Regions from separate parts of the Homo sapiens genome. Here region 1 is linked to region 2. Evidence: promoter capture Hi-C in human tissues and cell types (Jung and others, 2019). All regions are on one chromosome and are shown on one strand. The core of a region is centred on a gene start or on the middle of the fragment in contact, and the rest is flanking DNA. Distances in the headings are between cores, read along the strand shown. Region 1 overlaps LNX1 (ligand of numb-protein X 1). Region 2 holds the start of PDGFRA (platelet derived growth factor receptor alpha).

What was found. Contacts are between HindIII fragments. The study calls those that stand out against the background at their distance.
Region 1: a contact is called between a fragment that was not itself captured here and the fragment with the promoter of PDGFRA in region 2, in 2 of the 25 tissues and cell types used here (IMR-90 fibroblasts and aorta).

Annotation. Positions count from the first base shown.
Region 1 is chr4:53,575,380-53,582,607 of GRCh38, reverse strand. All of the region lies in intron 1 of LNX1 (ligand of numb-protein X 1), which reads left to right. It also overlaps the pseudogene COMMD5P1. Among named protein-coding and RNA genes, the nearest start is that of LNX1, 12 kb to the left of the region's middle. The HindIII fragment of the contact is 3,261 bases long and covers 3,749-7,009 here.
Region 2 is chr4:54,225,487-54,232,777 of GRCh38, reverse strand. PDGFRA (platelet derived growth factor receptor alpha) reads right to left here and starts at 3,485. Exons shown (of 23, transcript NM_006206.6): 1 at 3,363-3,485. RefSeq lists enhancers at 4,187-5,012, 5,841-6,666, 6,667-7,291 and a silencer at 6,135-6,322. The HindIII fragment of the contact is 9,376 bases long and covers 1-7,291 here.

The DNA.
Region 1 (7,228 bases), core at 4,130-6,629, 650 kb after region 2:
GTTGGCTGAAGGGAGTAAAATATTTTGAATAACTTTTAAATGTGCAAAAATTCAAAGCAAACATGAATACAGTAGGGCAGAGCCTCACACTGTTTGTAAAATGTCACATTCCATGTGGTGTCCTTGCTGGAGAGAACTCTTTATTACTTGACTGGGCTCGCTTATGTACTCATGAAACAAAGCTCTTACAGGATCCGGTCGTTTTGTGATCTTTTGTGAGACCTGGCCCTAGGTTACATTCTTTGCTTCTTTGAAGCGAGTCATTCCTCTTGCCTTGTGAACCCTTCAGCAAACTGTTCACCTGTGTGTCTCTGTCAAGTGTAACAATCAGCTGAAGCAACAATCAATTCTGACCTTGGGTGAAGTTTAGTGGCACACCTGGGAAGAGTTTGTAATTCTACTGTTTTGTCATTGTAGCTGGCTGGCCACCAGGTCAGGTAAAAGGAAAATATCAAGATCCAAAAAAGTAGTTGGTAGCAGAGCTGCATCCAAACCACAGTTTTGATATTCTTAGGTTTCTAAAATTAACAGTGACAAGGTCATAATTAAGGTGAGGCAAGTGAGACACTCACCTTCAGGTGCAAAATTTAAGGTGCAGAAAAATTCAGTAATCCTAATGTGAATGCAATATTTAAAAAAATGCAAAATGAATGCAAACAATCCATGATGAACAAAAGATCAAAATGTATTCAAATAAAGACAAGATCAGTAAGCTAAAGTTATTTAGAAATTGTTTAAGATCATCACTTAGTTAAGAGAAATGATCAAACATGGCAATTTCCTCAATCAAAAACAAGATGCGTGATATGGTTTGGCTGCGTCCCCACCCAAATCTCATCTTGTATTGTAGCTTCCATAATCCCCACATGTTGTGGGAGGGACGCAAGGGGAGGTAATTGAATCATGGGGGCGGGTTTTTCCCATGCTATTCTTGCGATAGTGAGTAAGTCTCATGAGATATGTTGGTTTTATAAAGGGCGGTTCCCCTGCACATGTTCTCTCGCCTGCCACCATGTTAGACATGTTTTTGCTCCTCCTTCACCTTCCGCCATGATTGTGAGGCTTCCTCAGTCATATGGAACTGTGAGTCCATTAAACCTCTTTTTCTTTATAAATCACCCAGTCTTGGGTAATTTCTTCATAGCAGTATGAAAATGGACTAATACAGTGAGCAAAGAGGAAGGTTTTTGGAAAAAATGATGAGTGTGTTTCCTTTAAAGCCAGGAAAACAAAACTATTTCTAAAATTGTTTGGAGAATAAATAAAATATTTAAACTTAAATTGATGTTTTAAGTTTTGATATACCTACTCTTCATGTTTTCCACATTTTTCAACTTCCTTAATGATCTGAAAAAAATTAGCCATTAAAAAATAAAAATGTACATATCAGGACATACATTTTTCCTTTGACCTCAGGCTGCAACTGATAAGGGTACAACTGTCATGGTCCCGGGTGACCAGTATACCTCCTTGGATACTTTCCTTTTTCAAGTATTTGTGCATCTTTTGGGGGTGGGGTGGGGACACGGAGCACCTGGAGCTGCAGGCTTCATTTCCTCCCATTGCCTCTCCATCAGTTGCTTGTGGCCTGTCACTGTTTAAACTTTTTCATTTATAGTGAATGTCAGTGGAAGTTCTTCAGTATTTTTGTACTTCTGGGTTGGAAAAATTATGTCTGATTTATCATTTGTTTAAATGGTTTTCATTTCCCTTTTCTTGTGTTATTTACTATGTTGGTACATTTTGGAATGAGATTTATCAAAGTAAAGGAACGTTTACAAACAAATAAGAGAGCCCCACATTCCTCAGATAGCAATGGTTCTAAGGATTGGATATACATTATGAGTTCCAGTACTGAACTATTTAGCCACTGAAGACTATCTTCTGTTTATATAAATCCACCTAATGCCACTACATATTTTTGCATTTTCTAAGCTTCATTCATAGCCATTGCTTTTGTTTTTAAAAACTTCTTCATTTCTACCTTTTTACTCGTAAGATATATACCTCCTCCACCACCTCCAGGAATTGTTTTCTCCAGGCCTCAGGGCAGTGTCTCCTCCTCTACCCACTCCAGTAACAGCAGTAGTGTGTGCTATTGCTGCAAGAAAGTGGATGCAGTTTCAGGCTGTCTGGCAGTCACATCAAGGGAACAGATTCCCTCACTTCACTCTGGCATGGAGTTTTGGAGTTCATTCTACCCATACATTATAGGAGAGACACTGATAAATTGGGGAGCTTGCAGAAGAGATTTGGATGTGAAAGAAATACTGACTGAACCCGAGGCTACTCGCCCTGGGGGAGAACATGGGATCTGTCTTCAAATAATTAAAGGACTTAAAAAGTTAGGCATATTCTAAAGAGCTCCTAGGGTAACGGTGGCACTTGTGGAAAGGGCAGGTGAGGTATAGGAAAGGAAAATTTTGCTCATTATGTGGACTTTTTCCTCTATTAATCAAAGCTATCCAAAGGTAGAATCATCTATTTTATAAAGTAATAAAGGCCTTTCTCATCTGTCAGGCTTCCTTTTGACTCAGAGTCTGTGGCTATAGTGTTTCATCTTTGACAAGGTTAAAGTGCCAATGCAGGACACACCGCCATGTGACTATAAAGAAGGATTCTTTTTCATAATATGGAATCCTCCTCCTATTACTAGAAAACTGTGACTCAGGCAACAATTTCAGAGATGCTTTAGGGTCAAATCTTGTCCTTTCAATGGGAAGAACACGTAAAATTATCGTTGCCACATGCCAAATGTTATATTTATCCAATTGTCCTTCTAGTGGAGTATGTGGTTTATTCTGGCAACTACATCTGATAACCATTTTCTATAAAGCCAGGGTGCATTGAAAGGAGAATTAGCAGGACAACAGCACACCAAGGATCCCATTGTTCTGATGAGTTACCTGATGCAGAAATGTTTCCACTTCCAAACAGGCTGTATTCCAAAGGCTGTTCTTAAATCTGTCTAGTGCGTTGACAGTAGACACACGATCTCGAATGACCCTCTTGGTTGCAGGCGGCACCAACTGGCTTTTGCTCTGGTATGTGTCTTTATTGTCATCCAGGAAGTTCAAAATTTGAGAATTAGGCAGAGAAGCTTCTATACAGGTTTTAGGCTAGACAATAAAATCATAGGAAAGGAAGCAGGGATTAGGACCAAAAAGAGATGGGGGTTTTTATTTTTCTGGGTGCTTTTCAGCACTAGATTGGGGGTTTTGGCTCCATATATCTCTAAAAATCACCTCTGGTTTCTGTCCTATTCCAGATCAGAAAGAAGGAAAGGGTGATTCCTAAGGCACCACAGGGTTATACTGAAAAAGTGTAAGATTTCCACCGTACCCATCATACACGTACGTAAGGAGGGAATCAATCCACTCCACTACTCTTTCTTACTCTAAACTGCCAAAACACTGTATCACAGCTCTGTCTACTTACTTCAGTTAGGGCCAGAGATGCTGATGGCTGATACATTCAGTAAATTTATATGGACACAAAGCTGACAGGCCCTCTCTCTTACTTTTGGTGGGAGAAACTAGCTTACCTTTTCAGGCTTAATGATTTTTGATAATTTCTTCTCCATTCAGCAGCAAGGCTCTGATATGTCTGAAAACGTGATACATCATACATGTTTATAAGCTATACACTGCAAATAAGAACCACCAGGGAGATATTAATCATATTTTTTAAGTCTACCTGGTTCTTTCCCTTAGAGCCAAAACTGCTTGTTCAGTCAATTATCTCATAATCTGTTTCTATTCATGTAGGCTTTATTTAGTCTAAAATAAAGTCAGAAAATATATACAGCAGTGTTTACATTAACATAATATTAAGAATTTGGTTTATCCACATGGGTAAGTGCCAGGGAATTCAAATTGCTCTCAGAAAGAAAAAGAAAGGAAGGGAAAAGATAAAAGAAAATTGGAGGTGGAGCTAAATCTGCCATTTTTGCTTACTCCATTCCATTCATTCTGCCTCAGCACTCAGTGAAATCAAGGAATCTTTTTCTTCAGAGATCTTTGACATATCTACAGTCATGGACCCCATAACGACATGTTGGTCAATGACAGACTCCACATATGATGGTGATCCCATAAGATTAAAATACTGTTTTTACTGTACCTTTTCTATGTTTAGATATATAAATACTTACCATTGTGTTACAGTTGCCTACAGTATTTGGTACAGTTACATGCTGTACAGGTTTGCAGCGTAAGAGCCATAGACTACACATCTATATGGTGTATAGTCAGCTATACCGTGAAGGTGTGTGTAAGTGCACTCTATGATGTTCACCCAAGGACCAAATCGCCTAACAATGCACCTCTCAGAACATATCCCCATCATTAAGCAACACATGATTCTACTTGCAATAGAGCCTGAAGAGATTTAAAGCTTTCTAATTTCCTGGGTCTCTTGTATTTAATGAGTTACATTATTGGGATTCTGACTAGCCATAATCAAGAAAGATTCTGGGAGACAAAGTAGGGAAGTAGGAGCAGAAACTTGGAGTCAGACAGCCCCTGCCTGTTTTGTTTCTTTTTTTGGTGTGATTGACAAGTTATTTACCCTCTGCATTTCAGTTTCCTATGCCATTTGTGAGGATTGAATAACATAATATACTATAATATAAGGCCCCTAGCACAGTGCCTGGCGCATGGTAAATATTCAAAGAACTGTTAGATGAAAAAAGGATTTTTCCCAAACATCAAATCATCAAAAACAAAACAAAACATAAAAACCTCACTTGATTAGCACAGAATCATAGAACTCTATTTCTGGAAGGGACTGTTGTACACGATCTAGTCTGGTGGTTTGCAAGTTTTTTTTAAAAGCTAGGATTCTTTGACCAGAATATTAAGAGGAACATGATGCATTAAGGAAATAATGGCAGGCGGGGTGTGGTGGCTCACATCTGTAACCCTAGAACTTTGGGAGGCTAAGATGGGAGGATTGCTTGAGGCCAGGAGTTCAAGACCAGCCTGGTCAACATAGCATGACCCCATCTTTAAAAAATAATAATAATAGTAATGGCAGAGCTGGAGGAGTGGGCAAAGCTCCCCCTTGGTTTCCTCCTATCTCCACTCCCTTGGAAGATCTGGAAGTATCTGATGCCTTCCACAGCACAGTTTGAAAAACGAAAATCTGGTCCAATGCCACCATTTCACCAACAAGGGAATGGCCCAGAAACATGCAGTTGTATTTTCAGTGGTATGGCCGCACTGCAGCCTGAATTTATATTCCCCTACAGCATCATGAGAAAGAATAACCAAGACTGTAGCATGTGGGACTATATGGCAGAACACTACAGAGAAGCTTTAAAAGACCTAGAGCTTTAGTTCATCCTGTGTGAACCATTTTTCCCCTATAGATTGTAGATGATAATCTTTTGCATGGCCCATTTCCATTTTCATGTTTGTTTTTCAACTGTTTCTGATGTCACTTAAAGTATTTCCTGTGAGATTCCAGTACTTTCTAACAGCCTTGAGGACAATCAGCAGCTGCATAGATACAGATTTCCTTGAAACAACTTTACCCCCTCCTGCACCCTCTATCTTTGCCTTCTGTGGTCCTATCTGATGCTAAATAAAATGCTACAATTTCTAAATGTTTTTATATTAAGGGCATTTGCCAGCAACCTCTTCACTAGAGTGTCCTCTCAGGCATATTACTGCAGTACAGAAATGTAAACAACAAAGCTGACTCAATGAAAGCCTGAAGTCAATGTATTTTCTTTTTGAGATAAGGCTATGTTTGCACAAACAACCTCCGACTTTATTTGGAAAAGAAAAGAGATATAATACAGTTTATGACTGCTGGGCTGTTTCCAAATGTGGCTAATTTCCTGTTAGGTTATTCGTGTGTCTTTATGTTCTTGTGGAAAGCATAAGGTCTTTTAATTTACTTTTGGAAAAGAGGAAAGTTGAGTTGGGGCTGAGGGAAGAGGCAGGATTCTTTTTTTTTTAATTTATTTTTATTATTTATTTTATAATGTTTCCCCTCCCCTTAGCCCCACTAGAATGTCAGCTCTGTGAAGTCAGGGATTTAAGGCAGAAGAATGAAAATGCCCAACCTAAAATACAAGATCTACAAAAGCACCTGGATGAAGAGCCTGCCTCATGGGAAGGGCAGGGCTGTCCTGGGAAGAGTCAGCTGCACTTTGGCACCATCTGAGGTGCCTGTCCAAGCCTGACCTGAATAGGACTGGTCATGTGAGGGGTCAGTCCTGCAGGCTGCCCTCACACCTCTTCTCCAGATCTGCCATCTCCTTTAGGACCAGGGCCACGCTGTACCGCAGCTCCTGGAACTTGGCTATGGGGACCTCGAAGCGGTATGCTAACCCATCTGAAAGCTTCAGCTGCATCAGGACCCTCGGCTGCAGGAAGCGAGCCAGGGCACTGGTGGAGATTGTCACATCCACCCACCACTGAAAGTCAGCAACATGGGGCAGCCAGGCCCCCTGCTGCTGGGCCACAGAATCAAGGAGGGGCCGCTGGCTCCCAAATACCACGCTGGCCAAGTCCCCGACCAGGTCTTGGGGGATGCAGAGTTCCTGGAGCTGGTCCCTGAAGGTGTTGGGCTTCAGGCTGGTGGGGGGAAGATGGAGGGCCTGCTGGAGCAGCGTGTGCATGCCTGCCAGTAGGGCACCCAGCCACTCCTGCGGCAGGTTGGTGCTGACCCCAAGACACTGCACAGCCTCTCGGCAGTCCTCCCCTTGCAGGCTGCTGACCACAAACTTCAGCAACTTTCTAAACATGCTCCTGTTTAGGTCCCCTAGTAGCTGGTCCATTGCTGCCACCTCTGGAGGAAGCTGGGCCCCCAAGAAACTCACTCGGCCACTGTGACTACCACCAGGATGATGCAATACAGAGCTGTGGCCCCCACAGCAGACACTGCTGCTGCTTCCTCCTTGATTAGCCAGCCCAGGGGGTGGGTCCCAGATGCAGATACCTGGTGCCAGTGATCCCCAGCCAATGCAGCCAAAAGCGGGCCTGGTCCCAAGGTGGGATTCTTAATCACCATGAAAGTTGACCCAGAGCCCTAGTTTGCACTGGGCTCCTACTTGTGTGTGTGTCCATGTCACCTCTGGAATGGGGACTCCCTGAGGGCAGAAGCATATCCTTTAAGTCTCTCTCAAAGGTCTGCATATCAAACTCATGACCTAGCTCAGAGTTGGCGCTTGAAAACTATTTATTGACTTTCTACGCAAGAGACTTCCTAGATGCAA
Region 2 (7,291 bases), core at 2,236-4,735:
CCCCGTCTCTACTAAAAATACAAAAATTAGCCTGGCGTGGTGGCGGGCACCTGTAATCCCAGTTACTCGGGAGGCTGAGGCAGGAGAATCGCTTGAACCTGGGAGGCAGAGGTTGCAGTGAGCCGAGATCGCACCACTGCACTTCAGCCTGGGCGACAGAGCGAGACTCTTGTCACACACACACACAAAAGTGCCTTCTGGTGCCACCTTGCCCGACACGCGCCATAGCCGCCTCTGCCCCCTCAAGAGTCCGCGCCCACCCGCGCTTGTCGCTCCCCTTTCGCGGGGGCCGAGAAACTGCAGTAGGAGGCAGGGAAGGAGGCGCCCCAAGTCGGGTTTCCCATTATTCCCTCCTACAATCTACTTTTTCAGCCCATCCCAGGTTCGCTCATTGATCAGTTTAAAACAAAAGGAAATGCCGCCGAGCCACTTCAGCAAACGACAACCATCTGGCAGAACCCGAATTAGGGGGAAGTTGGGAGAAGCCATTTGCCCCCGATCCTGCATCTTGCGCCCCAGGCGAGACCGAAAGATTATCTGCCGCCCCAAGGCTGATGCTGCGGTTGGACCCGGCGAGTTAGACCCGGGGAACCCTGAGACCCACACCTTTCGGTCACCGATCCGGCTTTTAGCTCTTTTCCTAGAATTGTCACTTTTCCACCAGCAACGTATAACCTGGTCGCAGCTCCCCGGAGGTCAAAGGGAGTACTTCCCTGTGGGGTCTGCAGGAAGGCGCTGGCCACCACGTCCCCAAAACGCGTCCCGCCGCTGCGCGCCGCCCACGGTCCGTCCCCAGGAGGCACAAAATGGGCCCGCCTCGGCGCCAGACGTGTTTGCAGCTGGAAAGCCCGGCCCAATGCCCCTCCCCCTGCATCCCTCCTCAGTCCGCGTCCCGAGAGGAAACTGGCCCAGGGGCGCAGAGCTGGGAGCCTGGGATCTCCTTCAAGTCCTTCTCGATCTAAGGATTTAAACAAGAGCCAGGGCACCGGGGGCTAACGACGGGTTCATTCTTGGCTTCCCCTCACTCTTGTGAACGAGGTCCAGCTGCACTTGGGTCAACCCAAAACTGCAAGCTCCGAAGCAGGGCCTGACCAGGGCGTCAAAGCGAGCCTGGTCGGCCTTGCGCCTGTCGGGGAGTCGAGGCAGGGCCTCCTCATCTTGAGGGTTGTGGAAAGGAGGAGGCCGAGGAGAAAGGGAGAAGAGGGGATGCAATTCAGCAGTGCCGGGGTCCAGGTTGACCAGATTAGGGGTCGGGGATGGGACAGCGCGGCGGCTGGGGAGGTGCGCACGCCCGGAGAGCCCCTTCCTCCCCTCCTGTGGCTCCGGGGATGTTTGTCCGGTGAGATGCACTGCGGAGGACTGTCGTGCGTTTGCCCTGGATGCTCCCTGCTCCAAAAATCTGTCTAGTTCTTGTCAGGAGCGACCGCGGCGAGGCGAGTCGGTCCAAAACATTGAGCAATTTGGCCTCGGAGCCAAAAAGCCATTTCCCACACCGCCCAGCCCGCGGCTTTTCGGACGCGGGGCGGTAGGGACCTGATATGGGCCCCATCCATGCTTGCCTCCCACCCAGGAAGATGGAGTGAGTGGCAAGTTCTTCCAGGCACTCCTTGCGCACATCCTGAGGTCTTAGCACAATTCGGGGAGCGAAGTGCGGGACCGGCGCTCTGGCTGCGGGAGGGATGCACAACGCACAGCCTGCCAGGCCAGCAAGTCCTTCCCGACCAAGACGCGAGGCCAGGCCATCGGCAGCTCTCGCACACCTGGCCCGGCCCAGGCTCCTGGCTCCCTCTGGCAACGTACTCGGGTTGGGCCACACTCGTCGCTCCGACCTGGCCGACACCCTCCCGGAATAGAACAGCTGATCCCACATATTCAATGCCAAATGGACGCCGCCCGCTCCCTGGGCGCAGCCGGGCGGAGTTAATTTCGTGTGTAAATCTGGTTTCCATGGGGGTAGACAGCAGAGGAAGGAGAAGTACGCACAGACGGCTCTGAAGCCGGCAGGGAGAGGAATGGAAAAAAGGCCAACTAGAGAGGACCGAGCAGCGCTGGGCGAGCTCAGACGGCAAGTGCCACGCACCCCCGCGCGGAGAAGGGTGCCGGGTAGGGGGTGTCCAGGGCTCGGGTGCCCGGAGGGAGAATATGGTTTACCTCCCACCTTTCTGTCTTACCTGCAAACAAGTTTCCCCAGTTCCAAGTCGTCCCTAACTTCCTCACAAGAAGTTCGGCACCTTCCTGGAGACCTTTCCTCTCTTCCTGCCTGCGGCCAGAACTGAGCGAAAGCAGAGCCCCCGGGCAATGCAGAAATGATTCCACCGAGGAGGGGGCGCGGGAAGACAGGCGGGGGCGGGGGCCACGGAGCACAATGAGGGCCCCTTGGTGTGCGGTTCGAAATTCCTCAAATCCCAGTTGCTGGAATGCGAGGCGACGACGACTTCTTCACTCAGGGCCAAATGTGTTTGTCATTATTCCAGACCGCCCGCCCGCGCCGCCGCTGTCGCCCCCGCGCTAGGGCGTGCAACCCGAGCACACTGCCCGGCAGGCACCCGCTCTCCCTGGCACCTCACTGACCCAACAAACCGCTCCAGAGCGCCCCAAACCCTTGCCCACGCCCGCGCGCCTCTGCTTGTCCCGCAGCCGCCTCACCGCCGCGCCAAATCTGGCCCCGACTCTCTCCCAGAGCAGCGCCGTCCAGTAATCACGCGCATTCGGCCGGCTCCCTGTGCTGTAGGCCAACACCGAGGTCCGGTCTCCAGCCGAGCCCAGCCCGCCTCCTGCGCCCCGCAACCCCTTCGCGCGCCCCCCTCCACGCTCCCCTCCACGCTCCCCTCTCCCCACCTCCCCCTGGTCCCCCAGCCGCGCTCCACACCATGGGCTGCAGCGCTGTCCCGCCAAACCGCAGGCGAGGAATGAAAACACTCATTTAAAACCTGTCGCCTTCCAGGACCCACTGCCAAGAAGAGGGCAAACACCTCTGCCTCCACCCCCAGTTCCTTGGTGTTCGGCCCAGTATTCACGAACACCACCCCCACTCCCAAAAGAAACCTCAAAAATGTAAGCCTAAACAATTTCTTTGGGAGGCCATAGGGTTGTTAGAAAAACATTGTTTTTAAAAATAGGTCTGGAAAATGTGTGTTTAAAAAAAATACCTAGACTTTCTAACTCTATGGTTATCTCCCACCCGTCCCCAAGTGAAGTTTATTCCGAAAAAAAAAAATTACTCTCTGGACACACAACTGGAATCCAGCTCCTTTTTTTTTTTCTTGTCGCCCAAAGTTTGAAGTTACTTCGCTTTCTCCAGTCCCAGAGTCTGATCAGGGACTTCCCTTATAAACAAAAAATCATTTTTTCTTTTCCCTTACCTTCTCCTCCGATGTTATTCCGCAATGAATGTCCCACACATGGAGTAAAGAGCGTGCCCACGGCCTCCAATGATCTCTTGCAGTCTCCTCCTCTGTTTCTCTCCCTGTAGCTCCAACAGTAATGGGCTCAAAAACCGCGTTTTGTAATTGATTCAATGTTATAGTCCATCCTTCTAAAACTAATCATTTGCTCTAAGTAAATAGCTGTCAGGAAATAAGCCCCCCCTCAACCTTGGTCTCTTCAAAATAAAAGTTTCTCTCAAACTCCCTGCGCTCCGAATCTCCCAGTGTCCAGATTGCGCCTTCGCTTTTTGCTCTTACGCAATCAGGGGGTCCAGTCCCAACCCCCAGACTTCGACAACAACTGGGGGGCGGGGAGAAGCAGACCAGATGGGATGGGGGGTGGTGGAAGGGGGAGGTGTTGGTGCTCTGCCGGGAAAGAGGTTTTGTGAAACTACAAACAGCCCATCATTTCCAGAATGAGTTTGCCTCCCCATTTTGGGGTTATTTTCTTAGACTGCTATAGTTTTGTATTCTCTTTGAAAAGAAGAAAAGGAACATACAAAATTGCATTTAATACCCAGAGAGAATATAAATCTAGAATCAAGAAATGTCCCTTCTACAAACTCGGCCCAACGAGAAATAGGGCCCTCGGGAGAAATCTCCAAGCGGTTGCGCCGTTTTGAACTAGGGGTCTTTTAGGGGAAGGGCTATATAGTTGCTAGTTATTTAATAGGATTGGGCAAACTGTTGAGTCCAATATGACAATGATGGGTTTTTGTTTTGTGTGGTGTGTGTGTGTGTACAAGACTGGGTGGTCTGAAATACGGTACAAAGAAAAGAGGGTCTGTGTAGGTTTGGAACGTTCTCCGATAGAACGACCTTTACTCCCTTGAAGTCACTTATCTGGTCGTGCCTTTGTTTTCGGGGTTATCTGGGCGAGGTTGCCCTGGCTTCTATCTCGCATACAAAAAAAGCTCAAGCTTGGGCGTTTGAGGAATCGTACCACCGCCTCCGCGTCGTGGGGGAGGATGCCTTTTGATTCTCCCTCCGTTCCCTCCCGCCGCGTGGGTCGAACCCTACGAATTCCTTGGAATTGACAGCTGAGCCCCAAACCCTGCGCCCAAGGCGAGAGGCCAGTGTCGGGAGGAAACGATCCTGCCGGCGAGGGAAAGGGGGCGCTGATGCTCCAGGAACCAGACCTGGGCAGAGTGGGGCTTCCCAGCGACAGCGGGGGAGGGGAGCGCGTTCACCTTCATCGCTCTCTGATTTTTGAATTCTCCTGTTGGGGTTGGGGGTCATCCTTCATCCTTCTCCCTCAACCCCACCCCAACACACGCACTCTGAAAATGGCCAAAGTGGCCAGGTTGGGACTGGCATGTCCAACAGCCGTCTCCTCCTTCACCAGGAGGGTGGACACAGTGCAGTGGACAGGGGAGAGTCACAGAGAAGTACTCCAACGGGCGCGGTGCTGTGCCTAACCAGGACAGGATCTTGGGATGTCAGCCTCGAAAACAGGGCGCCTGGGGCTGCGCTGGGGGTCCCATTGCCGCAGTTCTTCTACGCGACCCGCTCTCGTGCATCTTCAGCTTGGGTGACTGCACCGCTCGCTATTACTTCCACATGTCCCTTCAGGAAATCATTGAAGGCAAATATATGAACAGCCCCTTGTTCGGAATGCTAACAGGATACCGTAATGTTTGTAGAAAATGAGCGGGAACAAACGATCCCCCCAAAAATCAGAGTGCGGAATAAAAGGCAAAAGCGGGTGCTGGGCCACATGCTGTTAAGTTGAGAACCGGGTTTTTAGGCTAGTTGCCCCAGAGGGTAGGAGGCGAGACAGACAGCCTACCCAGAGGGGCTGCTTTGCTTCGGCGACACTGTTAGTCCGGTCAAGCCAGGGTCTTCCGTCCGCAGGGCCCCAGCGCTCTCCGCCCACAAATGGTAACTTCACAGTTCATTTCAGAGCCGTTTAATGGGGCCCGAGAAGCAGTCCGGGCGGGAGTGTCTCCAGGCAGCGACTCCTCGGGAGTTTAAAGCAGAAAGCAATGGATGAGCAAGCGAGCACCCAGTTGTCCTTCTGGTAGTAATTACCTGCCTAATTTGAATGATGCCTTTGTTATGATCATTAACAAACATTTGCTAAAGGTTTCCATGTGTGACATTCTGGAAGGTTTAAAGGCCTGAGGAGCTGACTCCAGGGATAGTGCCCCGGTGGGGGGTGGCGCAAGAAAGCAAATGGTTGGGGGAAAATTTTGCGGAGAGACTGTGCAAAGAAGAGAGGTCAACATCTGCCTCCTCTGCAAAAGCAAAATAAACCCAGTGGTCAGGAGCAACCTCCGGACAGGAGGCCCTCGAACCGAGGCGGTTGGTTCCTTAAACCGAGTCCTGCCCCCACAGCCCCCGCCCCTACCACTGCTCATAGGCGGGTTTGAATCCTGTTTTCCGCCTTCTAAGGCTGGTCCGAGGCTGGTTCGGGAGAAGTCGGGTCTGCGCCCGGCAGTCAGTCCGGGGCGTCGGGGGAAGGTGGGGCTAGTTCTTGCCGCGCTCTCCCAGTGTCGTTCTAAGATCCTTCGAGATCGGTCCCACGACGCCCCGGGTCCTGGGTGGTCCCGGAGCCGCAGGGGGCTAGAAACCTTGCCCTCCTGAGGCGGGCTGCGGGTCTTTTCTCCCCTTCTTGTGCTTCTCACTGGGCACCGTGTGGGGGGTGGGGGGAGGGGACCAGGCCACCATATGTACCCGGAGGAGAGGAGCGACATGCACTGGCCTGGGCAGCTCTGCGCAGATCTCAACCCGCGCCCGGATTCTAATTTTCAACCTCTTGGGGTTTTTTGTTTTGTTTTTTCCTTGAGGGATTATCAAGGGGTTAAGAATGTGGGTTTTCTCCCCAAAGTGGGAGTCGGGGAGGCTGCGAGCCGAGAGGAAGGAGGCCCAACTCCCGAATTGAGCCGGGCCGAGAAGTTGGGAGAAAAGGGTAGGGACTGTGACAGTTCTGTCCTCCGCCTTGCGCGTCTAGGCCAGCAGGCGACATGAAATTGAGGGCAAGGGTATAAAAAGGTGCAGTCGATTAGCTGACTTTCAAAAAGAAGGCCTCGTAAACTTTTTACAACCAGATCAAAATGGTCACTAAAAACAAAAGCAAAATCTCGCCGTGCCCTGCCCTGCCTCCAGGGCCCGTTCTCCTGGCCCCGACTCCCGGGCGAGGGCGGCCACAGCTCCGAGCGCCACACCTTTGGCTTTGAGGGCGCTTCCCACTGAGTTGGCTTTTTGTGTCTTCTCCTCCTCTGCCCCCCAGCTCCACCGCCAATTCTACTTTCCTTGAAGAATTCAGGTCCGTTTGCCCTAGAAGCCGTACGAATTTAACAGTTATCAAAGCCGTTAGTTGTGAAAATCACGTTTAAACTTGTGAATTCTTTTTTTCAAATGGTGATGGGCGGGGCAAGGGAACGGGGGATGTTTCTGGCTTCACAATTTGAAAATGAAGGGCCCGTTTGGTGGTTTGCAAAAGAAAACGGTGCTAACTGCTCCTTCTCCCACCCCCTTTAACCCTTGGCTGCATCTGGAATAGCCGCCTCCCTGGGTCCAGCGAGGAAGGGTCCTTTGCCCGGAGGTGGTGGAGGTGACGCACAGATGTGGGGGGTCCCCGCAGACAGAGAGACGCCCTGGCCTCTGGTCTGCCCCAGCTGAGGCTCGGAAGCTAGCTCTAAGGAGTCTCTTTGCACGCTCAGAATTCAGAACGGCACTAGTCCTGGAAAAGGAGGAATTCTCTAAAAAGATCGAGATGGGTCTGTGCAGCTTGAGGTGAAAGTTCCCTCCCCAGGACTCCGCACCCACCTTGCTGGCTGGATCTCAAGGTGCAGCCTCTCTTCTGGGTTTGGGGGGCTTGCTCTTCAGGAAGTAGAAGCAGAGGGTTCCTAACAACGCAGCCT